Regions from separate parts of the Homo sapiens genome. Here region 1 is linked to region 2. Evidence: promoter capture Hi-C in human tissues and cell types (Jung and others, 2019). All regions are on one chromosome and are shown on one strand. Each heading gives the region's core, a stretch centred on a gene start or on the middle of the fragment in contact. The rest is flanking DNA. Distances are from core to core; before and after follow the strand shown. Region 1 has its middle 53 kb from the start of RD3. Region 2 holds the start of RD3 (RD3 regulator of GUCY2D).

Region 1 (2,700 bases), core at 63-2,562, 53 kb after region 2:
GCGCTTCTATGAGAATCTAATGCTGCTGATGATGTGACAAGAGGCAGAGCTCAGGCTGTAATGAGAGTGATGGGGAGTGGCTGTAAATGTAGATGAATCTTCACTCACTTGCCCGCTGGTCACCTCCTGCTGTGCAGCCAGGTTCCTAACAGGCCACAGACCAGTACCAATCTGTGCCCCAGGGAGTGGGAACCCCCACACTAGATGATTAATATTTACATTGAATTTTGAGAAGCACTAGCTGGGCGCAGTGGTTCACACTTTGGGCGGCCAAGGCAGGCAGATCACTTGAGGCCAGGAGTTCGAGACCAGTCTGGCCAGCATGGCAAAACCCTGTCTCTACTAAAAATACAAAAATTAGCCGGGTGTGGTGGCCTCCCAGCTACTTGGGAGGCTGAGGGAGAAGAATCACTTCAACCCAGGAGGTGCCTTTGAGGCCTGGAGTTCAAGACCAGCCTGGCCAACATGGTGAAACCCCATCTCTACTAAAAATACAAAAAATTTAGCTGGGCATAGTGGTGCGTGCCTGTAGTCCCAGCTAACCGGGTGGCTGAGGCAGGAGAATCGCTTGAACCCAGGAGGCGATGTTGTGGTGAGCTGAGATCACACCACTGCACTCCAGCCTGAGCAACAAAGCAAGACTCTGTCTCAAAATAAATAAAATAGAGATGATAATATCAATAAACCCTTATCAGTGACATACTTGAGAGGTAAAGAGTGCTTCACTATACTTTTTGTAAAATTCCACACAAAGCATTTTAAAATCTAATATATGGGATGTCTTTTTAAAATGGTCACTTCTATAATGTATTTATATTTATAGCACAATTTGTATGCAATAAAAATATAAAATCTACAAATTATGGAATATGCCAGTGTCTCAGTCCATTCCTGCTACTATAACAAAATATCTTAGAGTGGGTAATTTATAAACAACAGAAATTTATTTCTCACAGTTCTGGAGGTTGGAAAATCCAAGATCAGCGCCAGCAGGTTCAGCGTCACTCCCTGCTTCCAAAATGGTGCTTTCTTGGTGCATATTAACATGGTAGAAAGAGTGAAAAGGAACAAGCAGCTTCCTTGCACCTTTTGTAAGGTCATTAATCCCATTCATAAGAGCTCTGCCCTCATGACTTAATTACTTTCTAAAGACCCCACCTCTTAATTGTAGCATATTGGCAATTATGTTTCAATATATGAATTTTGGGGGGTACATTTAGACCACAGCAGCCAATTTCCTAGTCCATGACATATATGTGAACATCCTGGAATACAGAGGGGTTGGGAGTATAAGTAACTCTCCATCTATGTATTTCCACAATCCCAATCACATTTTACACTCATACAGACACTCCAAATACTCTTTCTCCTCTTTCTGTGTTGGTTTCTAGTTTTCTGGTTAGCAATTGCCAAAGCAGGAAAATAAGAAAGCCCACGACAACGGAACTGTCCAGAGTTTCGTTTCTTTATGCAAGAGTATTGTGTCCTGGCTGGGCGCAGTGGCTCACGCCTGTAATCCCAGCACTTTGGGAGGCAGAGGCAGGTGGATCACTTGAGGCCAGGAGTTCGAAGCCAGGAGTTCAAGACCAGCCTGGCCAACACGGTGAAACCCCATCTCTACTAAGAATACAAAAATTAGCCAGGCGTGTTGGCACGTGCCTGTAATCCCAGCTACTTTGGAGGCTGAGGCAGGAGAATAGCTTGAACCCTGGAAGTGGAGGTTGCAGTGAGCTGAGATCATGCCACTGCACTCCAGCCTGGGCGACAGAGTGAGACTCTGTCTCAAAAAAGAAAAAAAAGAATATTGTGTCCCATTAGTTGAAGAATACAGTAATTTAGTTTTGTAGTTTTATTTATTTATTTAGAGACAAGAGTCTCACTCTGTTGTTCAGGCTGGAATGCAGTGGCTCAATATCGGCTCACTGCAGCCTCCGCCTCCCGGGTTCCAGTGAATCTCCTGCCTCAGCCTCCCAGGTAGCTGGGATTACAAGCGCCTGCCACCACATCCGGCTAATTTTTGTATTTTTAGTAGAGATGGGGTTTCACCATGTTGGCCAGGCTGCTCTTGAACTCCTGACCTCAGTTGATCTGCTTGCCTTGGCCTCCCAAAGTGCTAGGATTACAGGCATGAGCCACCACACCTGGCCTTTATTATTTTTTTAGAGACAGGATCTGACTGTCATCCAGGCTGGAGTGCAATGGCATGATCATGGGTCACTCACTGCTGCCTCAAACTCCTGGGATCAAGTGATCCTACTGCCTCAGCCTCCCCAGTAGCTCGGACTACAGGTGTGTGCCACTATGCCCAGCTAATTTTTAAATTTTATTTTTGTAGAGACAGGGTTGCACTATGTTGCCCGGGCTTGTCATGAACTCCTGGCCTCAAGTGACCCTCCCACCTCAGCCTCCCAAAGAGCTAGGATTACAACCATGAGCCGCTTTACCTGGCTAGTCTTGTATTTTAATCAATGTCTCCATAGAATTTGTACCTATGCTAACAAGGAAATATTATCAATTTGAGTTTTATCTTTAACTAAAAACTAGGCATTTGGATCCAGGAACATCAGAAATTCAACCGTGATATTTCAGATCTCAGGGAGAGGTTTCTAACTTTATTTTTTAGAGGAAGAAACTAAAGCTTAGGGGGTAATACGACTTTTCCACGTGAAAGGATAGGGTTTTCTCCCTCCTTTATCCCCT
Region 2 (2,700 bases), core at 144-2,643:
CCTCTCCTCATTGCCTCCAGCAACTTTCCTAAAGGGAAGGTAAAGTCTTGTCATCCCCCTGCTCCCTTCCCTACAGTGTGGAAATGCCTGGGAATTTCTGCCCTTGGACCTCCAAGCCACGCCCCTTGGGAAAGTGCCAGGATAGTGGTGGGGTGCTCAGAGGTGGGGACTCCCAGTTACCTGCTTTGGGTGACTCTGGCCTTAGCTGGCCCTGAGGTGGAGGCCGCCTGGGAACTGTGGGTCAGAGGAAGTCAGCTTCAGCTCCCTCAAATGTGGGGATCTTCCATCCCCAAGTGACCCACTCAATCTTTGGGGCTGTCGTGCTGTGAACTGGTCAAGAGAAGTATATGATCCAACTCCTGACTCAAGAATCTTGCCTGCTTGATGGATGAAGAGGGAAGGCGGATGGAACCAGCTGAGTGGAACCAGCCACAGAGCAAGCACGAAGTGACAAATCACCCAGGGACGAAATCATGCAGGCAGGCAGGTGGGCAACCTGAGTCCATTTCATCAGCCATTGTTTAATTTATTCTTGGTTGTACTTTCTGCTTTATTTCCAACACAATCAAAACCAGATGTGTGCAAAAGTCACGCTATCACCCAGCACAGGATTACCTAAGATCTATTATAATGCAGCTTCATGCCCATTACAGTATTCCCATGCCCCTCACAGGGCAGTGTGCATCTGTTTTAGTGCTACCTAATGTCTGTTAGGTGCAAGCTGGCCCACACATGGCTTCTAGGCAGAACAGTCTACAAGTGACAGCGTGACCAGAGAGCAGAGACAGGAAGGAGGCCCAGACATGAGTGTGGGATGCTGCAGAACAGCAACAGGATGCTTCTGCTATCCCCAAATGTTATCTCAAATACCTCAACGTCAATGCTTTCTGTTCCATGTTCCTCTTCTCCCTGGACAGCCCCTCCTTCTGAAAGTCAGAACTGTCTGCTCTTGAGCTTGCCTTGAGGGAAGGAAATAATTTAGATAAGCAGAGAGGAAGACAGGCAAGGGATGTGGTGGGGCAAAGGCGGAGATGTATCTTCACAGGTCCCTGTCCTCAGCACCCAGAATCACCCCTTCCCTGTAGGAGGGAGCTGATAGAAAGAGGGGATCTCCATCCAGGAGCCACCCACCAGGCAGCTGGAAACATTTGCCAACAGCAGGTACACCTAGGGCTCAGCAGAGGGTTGGGTGAGAATGGTCTTGCCCAGTTTGTGCCACACTGAGCACCGGCTGGAGGAGGAAGCGGACAGAATGCCATCTGGACACAAGTGCTCCCTCACTGCCTGGGCCTGGGTCGCCTCAGGCTTTTGTGTCAGATCAGCCACTCCCTCTACAGATAATGCTGCTCCAGGCAAAGAGGCTTAGGTGGGTCTCCAGGGCAACCGCAGCTCAGGAGCTGGCCCGCCTCCATGGTTCATCAGGGAAGCTGTGGCTCCAGCCTCGCGGGATACATACACGCATACACACACACACACACACACACACACACACACACACACACACACCTACACACCCCACAAACAATAGTCCAGGCTGGATCTCTCCTCCTGTCTCTTCTCTTGGTAAAACTTCTCAGAGAACCAAAGAGAGGCAAAATTTGAGGCCAGCCGGCAGCAGCAGAGAAGCTGAGGGAGACTTGAGGATGTAGACTGCCCTGCCCTGCTGTGGCTGCTCAACTTTCTTTTTTTTTCCTGAAAATATCCAGACACTCTCTTCTCCCAGACTGGGAAGCAGAACGCAGGCCCCCTGCTGTGACGCTGCACCTGAGCAGAGGCTGACCTCAGAGGTAAGATGGAGGTCTCCCCAGGAGACAGTGTCTTCCCCACCCGCACCCTGGCACAGCTGCACCTTTGGAAGTTAGGGCTGAGGCTTGAAGCTGGGTGGGGTGGCCTCAAGGGGTGTGGCAGGCTGGGGAGCCTAGAAAGCCGCCCACCTCCGGGACCCAGATGGCCACAGGAAGGCCCCTTTAGTCCTCATCAGTTCCACAGGAGTTGGAACCGATGAGGGTCCTGCAGCTTCCTCGGGGCTATAGCCTGCTCCTTGTTTTGTAAACCTGTGGGAAGCCATTGTTTTTGCCTGTTCTGGAACTGCAAGCCTCTCGGGGAGGACCCAGCTCCAGCAGGTTCCTTTCTGCCTTTATAGAGTGGACACAGGCAGGGGGAAGGAAAGCGAAACCCAAATCAGAGACTCTTGCATGGGTTTGCGAACTGTGATTCGAGCATCTACTAAGTCCAAGGCACAGAGTCAGGCTCTGGGGATGCAGCAGCACCCAGGGCACGAGGGTGATGGATGTGCCTCAGTCCCCTCGAACATGGAGCAGTCTGTGCATCCCTGATAACATGCCCAGGAGAGTGGGCCCAGGCAGATGGGTGCAGGGTGGGGCGCCAGGGAGATCGGGCCTAGAAGGAAAGTCCAGCTGCGACCAAGGGATGAGGGTCAGTCCCCTCCCACTGTGGTCAGTCAGACCTGTGTACACGCCCTCTCCTGGCTGCACCTCTGCCTCAGAATGGGAAGGACTGGCTGCCATTCACTCATTCATTCAGGAACCGCTTATCAAGTGCTACCATGTGCAGCAGATTCAACCCACATTCCTCTCGCCCTTGCAGAATTCATAGCTAGGTGGGGAAGAGATAAATACAACCCAAAGCGTGAGAAACGTGTTTGCTAGATGCCATGGTGATGGGCCCTTGTGTCAGGCC

Evidence for each region. The method cuts DNA at HindIII sites, captures the fragments that hold promoters and counts their contacts. A contact is called where the count stands out against the background at its distance.
Region 1: a fragment that was not itself captured here is called in contact with the fragment with the promoter of RD3 in region 2 in 4 of the 25 tissues and cell types used here (mesenchymal stem cells, ovary, pancreas and 1 more).

Annotation. Positions count from the first base shown.
Region 1 is chr1:211,437,435-211,440,134 of GRCh38, reverse strand. No RefSeq gene overlaps it. Among named protein-coding and RNA genes, the nearest start is that of RD3, 53 kb to the left of the region's middle. RefSeq lists a silencer at 367-590. The HindIII fragment of the contact is 6,200 bases long and covers 1-2,700 here.
Region 2 is chr1:211,490,855-211,493,554 of GRCh38, reverse strand. It overlaps RD3 (RD3 regulator of GUCY2D), which reads left to right and starts at 1,393. Exons shown (of 3, transcript NM_001164688.2): 1 at 1,393-1,787. The HindIII fragment of the contact is 12,360 bases long and covers 1-2,700 here.